2 separate regions of the Homo sapiens genome follow, and region 1 is linked to region 2. The links are contacts of gene promoters, found by promoter capture Hi-C in blood cells and fetal thymus (Javierre and others, 2016). All regions are on one chromosome and are shown on one strand. The core of a region is centred on a gene start or on the middle of the fragment in contact, and the rest is flanking DNA. Distances in the headings are between cores, read along the strand shown. Region 1 overlaps SNX1 (sorting nexin 1). Region 2 holds the start of FBXL22 (F-box and leucine rich repeat protein 22).

Region 1 (6,516 bases), core at 1,335-3,834, 520 kb before region 2:
CAAACAGAATGCGTTGTTATAAAGATCAGGCCTTGAATATGAAAATATTTTAATTAGCTGGTTTCTTGGCATCAACATGACTAAGAATCTAGACTACAGGGCAAGGAGGTGAAAACTTATCACCAAGAGTGATTTGTGTTTAAATGCATCTGATCCATGGGCTGTTTAAATTACTCTCTGTAATGGGATAAATTGTGTCCCCTTCAAAATAGGTACATTTTACGTTCTAACTCCCAGTTCCTCAGAATGTGATCTTACAGGGTCTTTACCGATGTAACTGAGTTAAAATGAAGACATTAGGGTGGGCCCTACTCCACTCAGGTTGGTGTCCTTATTTGTTAAAGAGGGAATGTGCACACAGAGATAGACATGCATAGAGGGAAGGCAATGTGGAGACGCTTAGGAAGGATGCCACATGACAGCAAAGGCAGAGACTGAAGTGATGCATCGACAAGCCGAGGAAGGCCTGAGACTGCCAGAAGCTGGGAGAGAGGCATGAACAGTCCTTCCCTAGCACCTTCACAGGGAGAATGGCCTGCCGACACCAGGATTTGAGATTTCTGGCCTCCAAAACTGTGAGAAATTTCTGTTGTTTTAACCAGTTTGTGGTACTTTGCTACAGCAGCCTTAGGAAACCAGTATGTTCCCTCTCCTGGTTCAGACATCATGACTTATTACATTTTAAGAGAATAAGTGCCATTCATTCATCTTATTCCACCAAGGATTTAAAGCGGTGAATAACTAGCTTAAAATTAATGTGTTTATAGACTATCCATAAATATTAGAGAAGCAAGAGAGAATCTAGACATATAATCCAAAGTCCTGGTCCAGGATCTATCATGGGCCACACTGTGCCCTACCAGGAAAGCTACTTCCTTTTTGGTCCTCAATTTCCTTTTCTGTTAGATGACAGAACTGTGTAAGACGCTCAAAAACATCCTACCAGTCCAACAGTCTGGGAAAAGTAAAACTCAACAGTTCAAATTAAAAAAAAATTTTTTTTCTTTTTGAGACAGGATCTCACTCTGTTACCCAACGTGGAGTGCAGTAGTATTACCTCAGCTCACTGCAGCCTTGACCTTCCAGGCTCAAATGATCCTCCCACCTCGGCCTCCCAAGTACGTGGGACTACAGGCATGTACCGCCATGCCTCTGTAATTTTTTATTTTTTTGTAGAGACAGGGCTAATTTTTTACTTTTTGTAGAGTCATGGTCTTGCCATGTTGGGCAGGCTGGTCCTGAACTCCTGGGTTCAAGTGATCCTCCTGCCTTGGCCTTCCAAACTGCTGGGATTACACATGTAAGCCACTGCACCTGGCCTAAAATCAATAGTTTAATGACCACCATTTTGGCCAGAGACCAGGTTAGGCAACATGGTGAAACCCTGTCTCTACAAAAAATATAAAAAAATTAGCCAGGCATGGTGATGCACATCTGTAGTCCCAGCTACTCAGGAGGCTGAGGTGGAAGGATCACCTGAGCCTGGGGAAGTCGAGGCTGCAGTGAGCTGTGATCATACCACTGCACTCCAGCCTGGGTGACAGAGTGAGACCCCGTCTCAAAAAAAAAAAAAAAAAAAAAAAGACAACCATTTTGGCATAAAGTCTAACAAGTTCCTGTCCCTAGTACCAAACAGACCAAGAGTTGAGAATTACATTTGTCCTCTTAACTGTATAAACACCACTCCTGTTTAGGAAGACAGGTTCTGTATAGCCTCTTCCATAAGGGACTATAGCTAGAACAAGGAAAGATGAGGCCTATTGTTCTCCACTCAGGGATAACTCTTGCAAGCTTGGTAGAGGGGAAAGCCATCCTAAAAATCCAAGTCCAGACAAAGTTAAGTGTTATGCTTTTTGAAGATCTAACTTCAATTTTGAGTACAATTCAACTTGGATCCCACAGATAGACTTCCCCACCTCATAAGGTTATCAAAAGTATGTGTATAAATGAGAGTTTCAAACTTCTTGAGGGAAAAAATAAGTTCAGTGTCCCTCAATTTTAGAACATGTATTTTTTAGGGTGCTTACATTGGATTTACTATCTCAAAAGACAGTAAAATGGTCTTATCAACTCTGAAGGAGAAGATAATGTTTTTTGTGTGTGTGTGTGTGTTTTTTTTTTTTTTTAAGACACAGTCTTGCTCTGTCACCCAGGATGGAGGGCAGTGGCATGATCTCAGCTCACTGCAGCCTCCACCTCCCGGGTTCAAGCGATTCTCTGGCCTCAGCCTCCTGAGTAGGTGCGATTATAGGCGCACACCACCATGCCTGGTCAATTTTTGCATTTTTAGTATAGATGGGGTTTCACCATGTTGGCCTGGCTGAACTCCTGACCTCAAGTGATCTGCCTGCCTTGGCCTCCCAAAGTGCTGGGATTACAGGTGTGAGCCACCATGGCTGGCCTGTTGGGGTTTTTAAAAAGAGACTCTAGCTGGGTGCGGTGGCTCATGCCTGTAATCTCGGTGCTTTAAGAGGCTAAGGCAGGAGGATCACTTGAGGCCAGGAGTTTGAGACCAGCCTGGGCAACATAGCAAGACCCCATCTCTTAAAAAAAGAATTAGTCGGCATGGTAGCACGTGCCTGCAGTCCCAGCTACTTGGGCGGCTGGGGTGGCTCAGGCGGGAGGACTGCTTGAGTCCAGGAGCTGGAGATGATAGTGAGCTATGATAGTGCTACTGTGCTCCATTCTGGGTGACAAAATGAGGCCTTGTCTCTAAAAAACAAAAAACCAAAAGAATAAAAATAAAAAGGGATTCTAGTAGTATTTGATGACTCTGATTTTTCTTCCTGAAGCCAAGAAAAGACTGACTAACGCATTGAGTAACAGCAGTCTCTGGCCTTAGAAACATAGCAAGGGGTCTACTTTTACAGAAAAGATACTAATGAAGTACTTCACATTGGCTAGTTCAACTCTGGGGGTAGCCATCCTGAAATTAGCTACCTATGCTTTCCACAGCCACATCCTAACATCACAAGGAGTCCTAAGAACCACTTACCTATCTTCTCAGGATCAGTTATACCGACTGTCAAATCAAATTGATCCTCCTGTTCTTCTTCCTCTAGCTTTTTCAAGAAAAGACAAATCATGAGAGTTGATATGAAAAAAAAAGCTATCAATTTTACCCTGTAATAACCTTATACCAATCTAATAAAATCAAGATGTATCCTTCAGTGTTCAGCTTTTGTCCATTCCCAACAATCCCAATGTACCAACTCTCAAAATTTTAAATTAGGAGCCAGCTTACAAGTCTTTGTTACATGTATCCCCTTAAAATCTTATTTTGATGACAATGAATAACTGCCAGATTTAGAAAGACTTGCCTCTTGCAGGCTAGGAAGGGAGTGAGGAGAAACTATACTCCTGAATGTGGAAGCTTCGCACACTAAGTATCTTTAGTAACCACTGAAAGCCTTCGTGCTCTCTGGGCAATAGATACTCTGCTCAAGAAAGACTCCTGTATTGGATTCTGGCTGTCCATTAACCATAAAGATCTCCTTCAAGAGTAACAAATATTTTCTCAAGGTTCATACTCAACTACACTTCAGACTGGCCGTACACAGTCCTCAATATCTAAAAGCGATAAGACCAAGAGCACAGATCCTCACCTCCTCATAGGTTGGCTGGGGCTTCGAAGAATTTGTGGCTTCCTGAGGAGGAAGAGAAATGAGTGTTTTGGCTAGCACCTTCTTCTGATTATTTTGTGTGCTGTCCAAGGATAGCTCCACTGTGGCATCTAAAATGAAGTTGATATTTTAAAATGAAGGTCAGTAATGAGTCTTTGAAGGCTAAACTTGTATAGGCTAAGAACTTACAAGAACAATAGCAAGCACTCTCAATACATAGAGGCTCTTAGACTGAAAGTCATAAAATGTTTACAAGGAGAAAAGGGGAGGAAGGTAAGGGAAGTGTTCTTCTAGCACAGGCTTAGTAGAACAACCTCTCCTTCTTTCCAAATACAACCACTTGGCTACCCTCTCCTACCTAGAATTTATACAAGAACCAAGGATAAGCAAAAAGACAACACAGCCAAAATAAGTTTATCAATTTTATTTATTTTTTAGACAGAGTGTCACTCTGTCACCCAGGTTGGAGTGCAGTGGCACGATCTGGGCTCACTGCAACCTCCACCTCGCAGGTTCAAGTGATTCTCCTGCCTCAGCCTCCTGAATAGGTGGTACTACAGGTGCATACCACCACAGCCAGCTAATTTAGTCTGTCAATTTTAATCTTCGGAGTATTCCTTTAGAACATTATATGAGCCCTATTTATTCTTGTTATAATTGTTTGTAAAAGGCTGGGCGTGGCGGCTCATGCCTGTAATCCTAGCACTTTGGGAGGCCAAGGTGGGAGGACTGCCTGAGCTCAGGAGTTTAAAACCACCCTGGGCAACATGGTGAAACCCCGTCTCTACTAAAAATACAAAAAAACAGTAGCCAGGTGTGGTGGCCTGAGCCTGTAGTCCTAGCTACTGGGAGGTTGAGGCAGGAGAATTGTTTGAACTGGGGAGGCAGAGGTTGCAGTGAGCCGAGATCGCGCCACTGCACTTCAGCCTGGGCAACAGAGGGAGACTCTGTCTCCAAAAAAGAAAAAAAATTGCTTGTAAAAGAAGTTCAGATATTTGCTTTACACACCAATATGATAGAAGAGGCAGGCATACTGACAGGAAAAAAATGACGTCAAAGCAAGTGTCAGGAAAGCTATAAGCTAGAAAAAAATGGAGCCAAGACACAAGCACAGTAACATTTGGGAAAGGGCACTTTTCCACACCTGATGACAGCACTGTTATTTTGTCATGGTTTAAGAATTTTTCCTAATGGTTTAGATCTCCTTGTAAAGGTTAAATTATACTTACTATATGCTATCCAATTTGTGAAAAAAGACATGTAATATCTGAAAATCTTCCTACTCAAAACAGTTTAAAAAACAGTGCTTAAGGGCTGCCTTTGTCTATCTGGGGAGTACTCAGTTGAACAGAACGACTCATTCCCTCAGTGTTCCAGAGAAGGGACTTTAAAAATAGCATTATGTACCATTTCTAGGCATTAAAATTTTTTATGCAAATAAAAAGAATGCACTTTCAACTTGGAGCAGTGGAACTAGATGCTCTAAGCCTAAACAGTCCAAACTTTTTTTCTTTTTTAGTAACAGAAAACATAAATGTCAATTTGGGTTTGGTCTGATCAGTAAGTATTCTATCTTAATCTTAGGAAATACAAAGAATGCTGCTGCTTCTTTTTCATTTGGGGCTAAACGAAACCAGAGATGATGGTTTATGCATATATGCCTATAGCATAATCAAGTCCCAGATCAGTATTCTAATCACTAAATGTGAATCAAGTCTGCAAACAGGGGTGCCACACTGTTAGAAATGAAATCTGATCCCTATCAGGAAAGTGAGAAAGGTGGTAACATAATCTGACTCTGGGGTGGGAGTATAAAACAAACAAGCAAAAAAGTACAGTTGACCCTTGAACAACACAGGTTTCAACTGCACGGGTCCATTTATACATGAATTTTCCTCTGCATCTGCCACCCTGAGGCAGCAAGACCAACCCCTCCTCTGCCTTAGCCTACTTACTCAATGTGAGGATGCAAGAATGAAAACCTTTATGATGAACCACTTCCATTTAATGAAAGGTAAATACATTTCCCTTCCTATGATTTTCTTAATAACTTTCTTTTCTCTAGCTTACTTTATTGTAAGAATACAGTATATAATACATGTAACATACAAAAGACATGTTAATTGATTATCTTATTGGTAAGGCTTCCAGTCAACAGTAGGCTATTAGTAGGCTATTAGAAAAGTTTTGGGGAAGTTATAAACAAATTTTTGACTGCGCCTGCATTGTTCGAGGACTAACTATACATATAATGAACATGTTAGCATATTAGAAGTCTCTGAAACAAGCAACCAGTTGAAGTATGCGTAGGATATTCACATCATGCAGGTCCCACACAAATAATTCAGTTAACAAACATGTTTGGAAATGAAACAGGAAGTATCACTCATCTAAAATATTTGGCCCTTTAGAAAGCTACTAAAAACCTTTTGCCAGCTTGGGCAACATGACAAAAGCCTGTCTCTACAAAAAATAAAACCAAACAAACATGCGAATATTAACAGGCATGGTGGTGCCCACCTGTGGTCCTAGCTACTCAGAAGGTTGAGGTGGGAAGATCACTTGAGCCTGGGAGGTCGGGGCTGCAGTGAGCCATGACCACACCACTGCACTCCAGCCTGGGCAACAGAGTGAGACCCTGTCTCAAAAAAAAAAAAAAAAAAGCCTTTTGAAGAGCTGTGCATCTTCTACTGAAATTCATGTGACAAAGATGCCAAAACTTATATTAAAACATGCTTTTCTCTTTGAACTCCTGTTAAGAGTACTGGAAAAGCATTCAGGCTCCATGAGAGACTCTGATCATCACTAGATTTATTATTTAAAAATGATATCAGAACGTTTAAGTTTCCACAGTCAAATACCTAAAACAACTGAGAAGCTACTGAAGTCCTAA
Region 2 (3,975 bases), core at 180-2,679:
AATAGCCTTGTCCAGTCGGGGCCCAACCCCAAGTCCATCTTCTGTTTTCTTCCTACCAGCTCAAAAGAAAGGTGGGGTCACTACGCTGTTTCCTTCCACTCCTGTCGTGCTGCCAGCAAATAGCAGCTATGAACTTGGGTGGCAGTAAACTGGCTGAGTCTAGTTTTCCATGAACAGCCAGGGCCAGTTTGTTATATGATCAAGGGGGTGTTTTTCCTCAAAGGCAGCACGGGACTGGCAGAAGCTCAGTGAGAGGCTGGTTGAATAGCTCTGTGTTCTTGCCTGGGCCGCTCTGCCCATGAGGCTGGGACCATGGAGGGAGCCTGGCCTGGTGGTTCAGTGTCTATGTCTGTGTCTGGGGTGGGGGTTAGCAGATAAACACAAGATGTATTTGGGACATACTTACACTAAAATATTATTCACTGTTTATCTGAAATTCATATTTAACTGGGCAGCCTATATATTTGCTAAAATCTGGCAACCCTAGACTGGGCAAATCATACCACCTCGTGGAGCATCAGTTTGCTAATTTGAAAAATTAGGCTAAGCCACCCTCCTTAGGAATACTGTGTAAATCAGTAATTCATCTACTCCTGGAGTCTGGTTTGGCTCAGCTGACCTGAGCACCCTGGCTTCTCCACCTCTGGCTCCCCACCCTCTCTTTCCTCCGTAGTTTCCCAGGCCTTGAGGGCTGCTTGCTAGGCCTAATGGAGGGGTGAGCTGATTGCTGCATCTGGAAGCCTTTTCCCAGAGCCTGACCTTGAAAATCCAGGCCCAGCTGGACCCACCCAGCACTTAATGACTACCAGTACGGAGGCCCCACTTCTTGGTGTTTGCATGAAGCAGCCCAGGACCTGTGAGGCTAAGAGGAGGATTAGCAATTGTTTCCCTCATGATTTTATTGTCTCCTGGGGACCCTGCTTTGGGCGGTCTGGATGTCTGCCTTGGGCCTAGTTTGAGGCGCCCCGAAGGTGGAGCCATCTTGGTCTCGTAATTTGCTCTTCCCTGCCCCCCAAGAGGGAAGCCAGAGCTAGCGGGGCCAGCACTGCTCAGGAGGCAAGGTGGCCTACCTGTCGCACACCCGGAGGAGGAAATCATTGACCAGGCTCTCGTGCCGGCTGCAGATGCTTCTCTGGAAGGCACTCTTGAGCCAGTCCTCAATGCTGCACACCTGCACGCGGCTGGAGTGCCAGCAGATGGAGAGGCTGCGGAGTGCCGGGCCCAGGAGGAAGTTGTCCTTCTGGAGTTCAGTGAGGGAACGGAAGTGCAGCAGGGACCAGAGTGCGGGGTCCTCAAACACGTCGTGGAGCTGGGAGCAGGTCCTGGCAAGGCTCTTCCTGCTGTCCTTGTCTAGGAAGGAGAAGAGGTGCAGCAGGCACTCCCGGTTGAGCTGGGTTATGTGCATGGTGAGCAGTGGCCACATGTGAGTGCAGCTGCAGCCGGGGGACGGCTGACCTGCCTCCTCTCCTCCTCCCCGACTCTGGGCCGGTGGACATATATGGTTGAGGAATGGTGTTTATTTTTGGCTAACAACTGGTGCTGAAGCTCTGCGGAGGGGTGAGGGAAGAAAAGCCAGGACCCAGACACATGTGCGGCAGTCTGTGGTTCGGCTTATGTTCAGAGGGATTGGAGGTCCTGGCAGAAAAGGAGCCTATTGAAGTTACTTTCCTTAAAAGGGATTTTTTTTTTCCCTTTAGCTGACAATGGTGTTTAGCAGTGAGCACTTTTGGCTTTTCCCAAGGCGTTTTCATTGGCAGTGGTGGCGGCCAGGCCAGCTCTGTCTGGCTTTGCAGTCTGTACTTAGGGGGAAGGAGTGTAATTGTAAATGTTAACTGTTTTGATTTTCTAGTACATCAGTGTGAATCTTTTGCTCCACCCTTACTAGGAAGAAACCTGTTGCGTGTGGAGAGCTAAGGGTGACGGTTGTGAGTTGTGAGCAGAGTCCATGGCTGCTGCCTCATTCCTGTTATTTTTGTGCCATAGAGTAATTGTCTCCAGGCTAGGCTGGTTGGCCTTCAAGCCCTGCTGCCTGCCACTAGGCAGGGGGATTTTCCTGGGCCTCCCCAACAGCTAGATTTTTACCCTGAGTTGTTTCATAAAAGAATTTTACTGAAGTAGCTGCTTTCCAAAGTTGTGTGTCTGTGTTTTATGTTTTATTGGTGCTTTGTTGTTGTTGTTGTTGTTTTTGTAGTTTTGGTCAAGCAGTACTTTCTGTGTTTTAAATTTAAATTTACTTGGCTTTACATTTTCTCACTGATAAGGCCTTGTACTATGTATAACCTGTACTTCCCAAAATGTCAGGATGGATGAGGTAGCTCTTAATGTGAAACTGCTTGAAACAATTTTAAGTTCAGTATTTTAGTCCATCTTTGCCTTTAAGTTGACCACACACCATCCATTCTATGAGTGCCCTCCGTTCCCTCTTGGAGAAGCCAGTGGGCCACCCCTGCCCTCTCTGACTCAACTCTAGGCAAGGTGCCTGGAGGTACTATCCGTGAAGCTCCCCCTTCCTGAGTACCCGAGGCTTCACGATATGGCAGACCCGTTTCCTCATGCTGCTTCACTCCCAAACCCAGGACCCAACCTTAACTCTCCTGCTTTGAATCCCAGTCGTTGTTTTTTGGTTTGCTTGGGGGATGCTGATATGGTGCAGCTGTATAGGCCACGTTCTGCCTAGGCAATAGTGAGAAGAGAATGGTTTTTCCTCTGCCAGCCCAGGGACCACCACCTCAGTGGTTACTTCTGTTTGTTCTCCCATTTGGAATAAGAGGGAATGGGAATCCTTGTGTTTTCCCATAGACACAAATGAAGCAGCCTATGCTGAACCCACTTCTGGAACTAAGGTTTGGTCAGGGCTGGTGCAGCTTTGCCTTTAAAGCAGAAGGCAGTCAAGCAAAGAAGGAAGTAGCCATTGTCAGTGGCTTTCCTGAGAAGCCAGCCTCAGCTGGTGCCCCTGTGCCTCCATTACTCCACCATGCCAAGATGAAGTACAGTAGGGGGTTCTCTTAAAAACAAACCAAGGAGGTCGAAAGGAAGCATTTCCCAAGGAAGGGGAGCAAGATACTGCTGCTATTTCAAGCTCATCAATGTAGTTCTGAATTATAGCTGACACCCTAATTTAGGCTCTGTCTAGGTGTACTTCTCCACTTAAAATGGATGCTGCAAAACCACAGGTGGTGTTATTAGAAAGCCACATTATCTCCACTTTCCCTCCCCAATCCTCCTCAAACCAATGCTTTTCAGAGGGTTTGACCCTTAGGAATAGGTGGTTCTTTCCACTTCTTGCAAGGCCAGAGTGGTACTTGTGCCTTCCACTGAGTAAGTGTCACTGTGCTTCAGCATGGCTTCCAAGTTGCACTACTGCAGCCCAGCTGGAATGGCAAAAGATTGGCAGGGAGAACATTTAGAGCATTGCCCCTCTGCTGTTCCTCCAGGTAGGCTGCAGGAAGCATCCTAGACTACCAGGGCCAGGGGGAATGTGCTCCTGCATGCTGCAGAGGGTCTGAGGCACAGCCAGGAGATGACGAAGCTCTGCCCCTTTGGGCTTGTCCAGAGCTATGCTGTTTGGCAGCAGTGACAGCAACCACGCAGCCTCTGACCAGCACAGCTGCCAAAAGAATGTGCCCTACGGAACAAGGATGCATAACAATTTGAGCTGCAGGCACCTGTGTCTTCAATTTTAGAAGACTGACAAGAACAGGCAAAGGATGACTGTGGAAACAGGGTTCTGTCTGCAGGAGGCATGGGGGCAGGGAAGTAGTCTATAGGAACTTACTGTAAACAGGATGTTTATTTAAAAGCACTTATTTGCCTGTTTTACCTTAAAAGATGACCAGTATCCTTTGCTCAGAGCCCCAAAACTAGTGCCTCAGGGTAGAGTCTAGCTCTAAAGGGGAAGGGAAGGGGCCTCATTTTTATAAGATCAATAGTCACAAGAGACTGAGGGTGATTTCACTGGGCAAGGCCGAGTGGGAC

What was found. The method cuts DNA at HindIII sites, captures the fragments that hold promoters and counts their contacts. A CHiCAGO score of 5 or more calls a contact.
Region 1: a fragment that was not itself captured here is called in contact with the fragment with the promoter of FBXL22 in region 2 in 2 of 17 cell types (total CD4 T cells and naive B cells); the score reaches 5.5 in total CD4 T cells.

Annotation. Positions count from the first base shown.
Region 1 is chr15:64,115,334-64,121,849 of GRCh38, reverse strand. SNX1 (sorting nexin 1) reads right to left here. Exons shown (of 15, transcript NM_003099.5): 3 at 3,606-3,733; 4 at 2,996-3,062. Among named protein-coding and RNA genes, the nearest start is that of SNX1, 23 kb to the right of the region's middle. The HindIII fragment of the contact is 1,582 bases long and covers 1,794-3,375 here.
Region 2 is chr15:63,594,841-63,598,815 of GRCh38, reverse strand. FBXL22 (F-box and leucine rich repeat protein 22) reads right to left here and starts at 1,429. Exons shown (of 2, transcript NM_001367807.1): 1 at 1,071-1,429. The coding sequence starts at 1,423. All of the region lies in intron 1 of USP3-AS1 (USP3 antisense RNA 1), which reads left to right. The HindIII fragment of the contact is 9,685 bases long and covers 1-3,975 here.